Regions from separate parts of the Homo sapiens genome. Here region 1 is linked to region 2. The links are contacts of gene promoters, found by promoter capture Hi-C in blood cells and fetal thymus (Javierre and others, 2016). All regions are on one chromosome and are shown on one strand. The core of a region is centred on a gene start or on the middle of the fragment in contact, and the rest is flanking DNA. Distances in the headings are between cores, read along the strand shown. Region 1 holds the start of CAAP1 (caspase activity and apoptosis inhibitor 1). Region 2 holds the start of NFX1 (nuclear transcription factor, X-box binding 1).

What was found. Contacts are between HindIII fragments. The CHiCAGO score rates a contact against its expected background, and 5 or more counts as called.
Region 1: a contact is called between a fragment that was not itself captured here and the fragment with the promoter of NFX1 in region 2, in 1 of 17 cell types (non-activated CD4 T cells). The highest score is 5.4, in non-activated CD4 T cells.

What each region holds. Positions count from the first base shown.
Region 1 is chr9:26,891,525-26,895,843 of GRCh38, reverse strand. CAAP1 (caspase activity and apoptosis inhibitor 1) reads left to right here and starts at 3,042. Exons shown (of 6, transcript NM_024828.4): 1 at 3,042-3,431. The coding sequence starts at 3,129. It also overlaps the pseudogene RN7SL100P. RefSeq lists enhancers at 2,813-2,882, 2,484-3,063, 3,013-3,232, 3,313-3,492, 3,064-3,643. The HindIII fragment of the contact is 207 bases long and covers 2,371-2,577 here.
Region 2 is chr9:33,289,134-33,293,459 of GRCh38, reverse strand. NFX1 (nuclear transcription factor, X-box binding 1) reads right to left here and starts at 2,944. Exons shown (of 24, transcript NM_002504.6): 1 at 2,863-2,944. The coding sequence starts at 2,887. It also overlaps the pseudogene LOC100862682. RefSeq lists enhancers at 2,669-2,718, 1,700-2,899, 2,869-2,918, 2,929-3,348, 4,054-4,326. The HindIII fragment of the contact is 6,050 bases long and covers 447-4,326 here.

The DNA of each region.
Region 1 (4,319 bases), core at 1,225-3,724, 6.4 Mb after region 2:
AACCTGGTGGCTTCCACTCCCAAAAGGTCACCATATTAGTGCTGAACTAAGTGCAGACAACTGATCAGTACAGCGCACTACAGCCCAGAATTTCTGGCCTCAAGCAATCCTCCCCAGTTTGCCTCTTGAGTAGCTTGCACTGCAGGCATGCACCACTGTACCAGGCTTTTTTTTTTTTTTTGAGACGGAGTCTTGCTCTGTCGCCCAGGCTGGAGTGCAGTGGTGCGATCTTGGCTCACTGCAAGCTCCACCTCCTGGGTTCACGCCATTCTCTTGCCTCAGCCTCCTGAGTAGCTGGGACTACAGGCGCCTGCCACCACGCCCAGCTAATTTTGTTTTTGTATTTTTAGTAGAGACGGGGTTTCACCGTGTTAGCCAGGATGGTTTCCATCTTCCTCATGATCCACCCGCCTCGGCCTCCTAAAGCACTGGGATTACAGGCGTGAGCCACCATGCCTGGCCCAGACTCTTCTTTTAATAAGGACACCAGTTATATTAGATTAGGGACCCACCCTTATGACTTCATTTAACCTTAATTACCTCCTTAATGACCCTATCTCCAAATTCAGTCACATTGGGGTTAGGGATTCAACATATGAATTCTGTGGGTGATGTTATAGGACCATCAGGTTCTATTAACCACTACATGGTACCAGACCAATACATGGAAACAGCAGGAGTTGCAGCAGAGAAAGAGTTTAATAATGGTATGCCAGCCAAGGGAGAAGATGGGAGGGAACCTCAAATCACCTCCCCAGTAAGTTTTTGGACAGGGGTTTTTAAGGGAATTTTGGTGGGTAGGGGGCTGAGGAGCTAGGGGTTGCTGATTGGTTAGGGCATGGGGGATGTAATCATAAGGAGGTAGAAAGTGCATTCTTGTGCTGAGTTCGTTTCTCAGAAGGGGTCTTCAGACTGAGTAGCATCAGTGACCCCACTGATATGGTTCCAATGACTGGAGGAACACCACAGTCTTTTGTCTCGTGCTGGTTTAAATAAAACGATACAGACACAAGTGGAATTGTTTTAAGGAGCGGAGAATTTAATAGGCAAGAAAGAAGAGGCTCCCTCATACAGAACCAGAGGGAAGAGGGCTCCCAGATGAAAGAGGGAACCTTGGGTGCAGCAGACAAGAGCCAGTTATATTATGAGGCTGGAGGAGGTGGTGACTAATTTGCATATGACCCAGGGAATTGGTTTGACCAGGTATGTCATTCACGTAGCCTGCAAAAAAAGTGGCCCTCCCACCCTAGCCTTTTAATATGCGAATGTAGGGTGCCACAATGTTCTACACATGTGGGGATATGTGGGGATGGCCATGTTGCTAGGCACATGTGGGGACAAGAAGAAGAGGGGAATCGCCATACTGAGTAAACCCAGTTTCTAACGGCCTGCATTTGCATATCATAGCTTGCCAGCCCAGCTTTTTTGCTAGACAAGAAACATTTCTGGAGCTGCTTTAAAAGAAAAAAAACTTCCCAAAGACCCCTTTACCTCTCTATCTGCCTAAAATAATTTCTTAACTTCTGTAACACCATTGGAGTACAGAATCTGGTAAATATCTCAAAATGGAAAACTTGAGATTTCTTAACCGAGTCAAAGATATCTATAAAGCAATAAGCAGCTATAAGGAAGTGGGCTATAGGAAAAGTTGGTTAACGTTTAGCTATGCTTCTACTAAAAGCTTATCTTTTGTCACAAATCCAGCAATTTGGCAGGGCACGATGGCTCACGCCTGTAATCCCAGCACTTTGGGAGGCTGAGGCGGGTGGATCACCTGAGGTCGGGAGTTCGAGACCAGCCTGACCAACATGGAGAAACCCCTTGTCTACTAAAAATACAAAATTAGCCCTGCATGGTGGCGCATGCCTGTAGTCCCAGCTACTCAGGAGGCTGAGGCAGGAGAAATGCTTGAACCCGGGAGGCGGAGGTTGCAGTGAGCCGAGATTGTGCCATTGCACTCCAGCCTGGGCAACGAGAGTGAAACTCCGTCTCAAAAAAAAAAAAAAGAAAAAAGAAAAAATCTAGCAATTTAGTTTTATTAAAATTATGATGGTTTCAGGGACACAATTCATAACAGGTTTATAAATGTAACATGTTATTAATTTTATGTGTTTTTCCTATCTGTGAACACAACACTCTCAATCCTTTCAGGTATGACTCCAATGAGTGTGATACTTAACGGAACTCCTGGGAACACAGTGGGCTCAGCCCCAGGATTTACCTTACAAGGCCAATTTAAGAGTGGGGCCTGGGGGAAGACAGTTTTCCTAGGGCTGGAAGTGTCCCTATTTATTAACCCTAGGCTGGTTTTAGGCATTTAAGTAGTTGTTGAATGACTGAGACAAATAGGAGACAAAGAGAAGGGAAGCTTCTTTAATTGCTTCTTACCCCAGGGAAAGGCACAGAATTACTACCACCCAGCTAGCTTTGCCCCAGGCTCTACCTTTTTCCCTCAGTGGCTAAAGGCCCCTGCTGAAACGACAAAGACCTTGGTTCACGTTTTAAGTGTTCTAGCTCCCTTGTCTTAAAATCTGCCTTCTATTTAGATTACATCCACCCATAAAATCTCATAAAGCTTTGACCCATTCTCAATTTTCAAAAACGAACTCAAGCTCTACTTGTCCATGTCAGACTCTACGCAAGAAATACCTAATTTGCCCAGGTGATGAGGAAAATGAGATGGAACAACTTTTCCCTATTCTCTTTATTGTCATAGCGTTGTTAATATCTTAAGATTTGGAGGTAAACGGAAATGGAGAATCAGCAACTATACTTCAACCTTATTGTAAACAGACAAAACACTAACAATAAAAAGTTTTGAAGTTAAAAGGACGTAAGTTCCACCTTCTATCCTTTGTAGAGATATAAAAACAAAACAAAACAAACTCTGACTAGACAGGCTACCCGCTACACACTCAAATCGACCTCCGCGACCGGAGGGGGAAGCGCAACTGGTTATGGCAACCCCCCTGCCACCCCGGCCCATAACGCTTCACCACGTTCTGTGCCACGGCCGGAAGTGACGCATAACCTGCGACGCCAGTGCCTGCCGCCCACGGCCGCAGGAGTCGGGCTTCGGTCGCACCAGAGACAGCGGACTTTCCTCCGATGGTTGCAGCAGAGGGATCATGACGGGGAAAAAGTCCTCCCGGGAGAAACGGCGCAAACGTAGCAGTCAGGAGGCGGCCGCAGCGCTCGCGGCCCCGGACATCGTACCCGCGTTGGCCAGCGGCAGCAGTGGAAGCACTAGCGGCTGCGGGAGCGCCGGGGGCTGCGGGAGCGTCAGCTGCTGTGGGAACGCCAATTTTAGTGGAAGTGTCACCGGCGGTGGGAGCGGCGGCAGCTGTTGGGGCGGGAGCAGCGTGGAGCGCAGCGAGCGCCGGAAGCGGAGGAGTACCGACTCTTCCAGCGTCTCGGGCTCCTTGCAGCAGGTGCGTGCGCGCCCCTCTGGCCGCTTCCTGGAGCTGCTGCTTTTTCGGAAGAAGTCGGGCTTCCAGAGGGATGGGGCGCAGGCTGGAGCTCACTGCTAGCGCGGCAATCTCAAGGTCGTCCGTCCTTGAGGTTCATGTTCCTACCTAAGTCCTGGTGAGCCCCACACTCCCATCCGTGTCTTGAATCTTGAACTTCAAGTTTCTGGATTTCCTGATCACTTTTTTTTTAATTTATTTTTTAAACTCTTGGCTCCTTCCACTCCTATGGTTTCACTCTGCCGGAAGAATACGAGTTGGAAGCTAGCCTTCATTTCCCTTGCGAGCCAAACACTTCTCCCTTCGTCTTCACCTTTTCGTAGATATGGTTAACTCCGCATTAGAGATAAGAAAATTGAGGCCCAAAGAAGTTAAACTTTACCCACGGTCACAGAGTTTGTTAATAGCTCCTAGGTTTGAATCCAAATATCTGACTACAAAAGCCATGTTCTTTATACGCCACCAGTCTGCCAAGAGAACGCCGTTTTAAAAAAGTTCATAATTTGTTTGAAAACAAATGAATGAATAGGTACTTTAAATTCATTCAATGAGGAAATAAAGGGAAAGCGTCAAGTCCCTTTTCTTGCCCCTCCATTAGTATTTTGATACGCGGCCTCTTTTAATCACTCCTCGTGAGATACGTGTTTTTAAGTTCCTACACTTAAGCTGTATTGTGTTATTCCCGCTGTTGAATACCTGCATTGTTGTGATAGGCTTCTTTATATACGTGGTTTGTTATTTTTACTGACTGCCTGGTATTGTATTATATTTTTCTGATATTTGGGTGTGCAGGTTTTTTTGTATTGTTGTGACTACAATACAAACACCTTTATGTATATATCTCCTACAAGA
Region 2 (4,326 bases), core at 1,695-4,194:
GAGTAAAGCAAGTTAATAACACACACAAAATGGTTAAAATGGTACTCTATCATTGCTGTTAGGACTACAGAGGATCTGAAACACACAGGCTTGAGCATTGATGGGTGCAGTATAGAGCCTGAGGGTTTCAGGTTTAATAATAAGGCCTAACATTTATTAGGTATTATGTGCCAGGCACTATCCTAAGCACTTTACATGTATTAACTCATTTAATCCTTACATTCCTGATGAGAAAACTGAAGCACAGAGAGTAGGAACTTGCCCAAGGCCACAGAGGAATTCCAAGGAAGACTCGGGGTTCCAACTCAGTTTGTGTATTAGAGACTGCGCTCTTACACTAACAGAGCTTGGGCAGTGGGTACCATAGAAACATACAGTGAAAAATGGAATGATCATAAAGGTCATAGAGTAACCTCTCACCCAATTCAGGATTTGTCCTGAAAGCTTTCACATAGGCAGAATTCTAGGGGATGGGATGGAGGGCCTCACAAAATCACAAAAGGATTAGACAAATGCAGAGGGTGGCAGAGGTATTCTGGAAACATAAGATAATTTAAAGGTTGGAATGGTTAAATTGGACCAGTGGGTATTGTGTAGTTCTCGCTTGCTTGAAAAAGCGAGACTGGAAAGAGGGGCAGAAATAAGATCAGTAAAGATGTCTAGAGAAGCCTAGTAAAGGATAGGAAAAGAGTGTTTCTCGTTAAGCAGTAATGAGTTGATGCAACTAGAGAATCCAGAGAAGGCTGCATGTACTCATATACAGGATATGTTCAACTAGACATGAGGCAGCAGGCAAAGCCCTCAGGAAAAAAACCCATAAGAGACATGAGGAAGGGAAACAGGACACATTGATCAGGAAACTGGCCATGGCAAAGATCAGAGGCACCATTTTTATTTCACTATTTCAAGTAGCTGGAAGTTAGTAAACAGGATGTCTAGTCACCACGGCTAGAATACAAGTGGTACCCTAAATCCAAGATAACACAGCAGCACAGTAGGTGTCCAACAGGTGGGAAAGGCAGACTAAAGGGAAATCCAACTGGCAGATTACAAAGTCCAGAGACAAGGCTGGCATTGCAGAGTCTGCTCACCGGCAGAAAAGTATCCTCTGCACTGGGCTTCTGTTTAAAGACTTTGATGATGAGGGTGTGGGCTAAAGATGATGCTAAAATACGAACATGGAATGGGAACTAAAGCAAAATCAAACTAAAGCACATGAAAAGGAGTAAGGAGGTCTTTGGACTAGAAGATTTTGCCTCATTAGATACTTTCTGGGTTGGAGGTAATAACTTGGGCACAACACCAAAGTTCAACACGAAGACTCACAACTAGGCCCCACCGAATTCTTCTTCAAACACTGAAGGGTACAGAAATGAGTCAGAAACGAGCCTGTGGATGAGACGATCAATAGATCCAGTTTAGAGAATCTGGTGAAGGACTAGGTGAGGAGAATAACAAAATACCCAGCCCAAAAAGTTTTCCAACCCCAAGGAAGACTTAATATCCACATCAAGACTAGGGTACACCAATGCAGTGTGTTTTCCAACTTTTTTTTTTGAGACGAAGTCACACTCTGTCGCCCAGGCTGGAGTGCAGTGGCACGATCTTGGCTCACTGCAACTTCCGCCTCCAGGGTTCAAGCAATTCTCTTGCCTCAGCCTCCGGAGTAGCTGGGACTACAGGCGCGTGCCACCATGCCCAGCTAATTTTTTGTATTTTTAGTAGAGACGGGGTTTCACCGTGTTAGCCAGGATGGTCTCGATCTCCTGACCTCGTGATCCGTCCACCTCGGCCTCCCAAAGTGCTAGGATTACAGGCGTGAGCCACCACGCCCGGCCCTAACTTTTTAAACTAAGAACCATAGTAATAAATACATTTTACCTGCCACCCAGTATACAAATACATATATGGTCTTCTTGGTGCCCCAACGGCTGGTCAGGGACAGAGCTGAGATTCAAACCAATGGTTTCCAAACTCCATTCTGCAAACTGCTGCCCTGTTTTCCAGAGTGGGCCATAAAATCAAATGAAGGCAGTGGGCTGTGACATATTTTTAAACGAAACAGAAAACAGAATATATTGCTGATTGTAAAACAAACCAACCAACCTCACTGCTTCCAGAAACTTCTGGTTCGCTTTTATATTTATGTAAGTGTACAATATTTAAGGTCGCGATGCAAAATGTTTCTTTTGGTTGCTGTCCAACACATTTGGAAAACACTGATCTATGGAACACCCTGAGGAAATGGATGTTATATCAACGAACAAATGAGGCTGTCTCTACACACTGAGGCAACTCCAGGAGGGGGAGTGAGTGAACAATTACAGAATAGGTACAGTACAGGGCGGGAGCCATCACAGGAATTAACTTATCTACTCCCAACTGACAGATGAGGAGACTGAGACTGAGTCACACGGGGTTCGCAGCAGGCTGAGACTCTAAACTACTGGAATTCGGCTCGCGCCCACGCCACCACTCCAGGCGGTATGAGCACACCACACCCTACACGTCAAGAGCCCGCCACCGTCACTGGCTGTGACCTGGCCGACGCCCGCCTGTCGAAGGTCAGTGCGCCGCTGCCCCAGAAACAGCCTGTGGGAAGGCAGGGCACCCACATCGACTCGCAGCGCCGGGACAAGTCCTCTCTCCTCCGAAACCCAGCTACTGGGCTTCACCATCTAGTCCAAGAAGACACAGATCTTCGTACGCACGATGCGCGGGGCTTGGCCCTTCCGAGCCACTATCCTACGCCCTAGCATGTGCTACTCTCGCGATATGAGTGGCTGAGGCCCTAGAACTTCGTCACTGACCCAATTTCCGCTCCCTGAAAGGGGCCCAGTCCCGCTCGGGCCGGGACAATACCTGAGACAGGAGGCGCCTCCGCCATCCCGTGCCGCAGAACCTAGATCGAGCTGTACAGCCAAGTCAGCACTGTCACCAGGTCACGTGCCCCGGACTTCCGGCGCCGCGAGAATATTCGCATCTGCGCGCCGTGTAGACGGCCACAGAGGTTGCGCAGCCCGAATCTGTGTGGCGCGTTCGTGACGTCAGATAGACGCGCCAGGTGTCGGGCGGGAGGAGGAGACTAGTAGCTGGATGGAAATAGCAACAATCGCAGGAGGGAGGGCGGCGACTTGCGTAATCATTGTGGTTTTCCTTTTTTTATTTTTTGATATAGGGTCTTGCTGCCTTACCCAGGCTTGAGTGCAGTGGTCTGATCATGGCTCACTATAGCTTCAGTCTCTAATCCTCCCGCCTCAGCCTTCCGGTAGCTGGAACTACAGGCGGAGCCACCATGCGCAGCTATTTTTAGTAGAGACGGGTTTCGCCATGTTGCCCAGGCTAGTCTCTCCAACTCCTGGCCTCAAGCGATCCTGCCGCTTTGGCCTCCTAAAGTGCTTGGCTTACAGGCGAGCCACCACGCCTGGCTCCAGACTTTTTTTTTTTTTTTTTTTTTTACAAAGGCGTTTATTCTCATCAGTATCACCGATATTCTCATGGTTCACATTTGCCAACGCCGCTCCTCTCCTTACAGTAGTTAAATGTGCAATCTCACTTGGGGGCCCAGGGAGGGGTGGGGGCTCGGCCCAGGGTGGGGAGGGCGTTGGCACTTCACGTGGACAGGGTGGGCAGCCTGTCCTGCGTGAAAGAGGTGTGGGTGAGTGGGCGGCCAGGGAAGGGGAGTTGGCAGGGGAGGGCCCCGCAGTCTTTTTTTCTTTGGTGGTTGGTGATTCTCCATTCAGATTCCTTCCTGGCTTCCCAGGGTAGGGGAACCATGCAGCTCAGGGCAGGGCAGGGGAGGAAGAGAAGGAAAAAGCAGCAGGCCGCCCGGGGGGAAAGGTGGAGGGTGAACGGCAGGGCAAGGGGGAACGGGTGGCTCCTGAGGTAAGGCACAACCCTGTCTTTGGCTTTCCTGGTGAGGAGTTTCCTCCCCTGCACCCCCTGCCCGACGCTTCTCCCCACCCCCCCACCCCCCAGACCCACACACAGTCCCAGGAGCCAGGGGGCACCACCTCCTGGGGTCCCTGAAACAAGTGGGCTCTGCCACCCAAGCCAGTGCCGCAGGGGCTCGAGGAGGGACACCCGAGGAAAAGGCAGAGAGGGGCAGGCAGGGGCCTACCCAGGACAAGGGGGTGGGGGTGAGAAGACCCTAGGCCCAGGAGCTGGGCCCCCCGCCCCAACTAAGTCCTGGAAGTGGGGGAGCACCTGCTTCCTTTCGGGGGTCTGGCTGGAGCCCCGGTCTGCCCCTTGGCCTCCGTCAGGCCCAGCCACTTGCCAAGTGACCAGGGCATTGTGCTTTGGGGTAAACGCTGGGGTGGGGTGGCA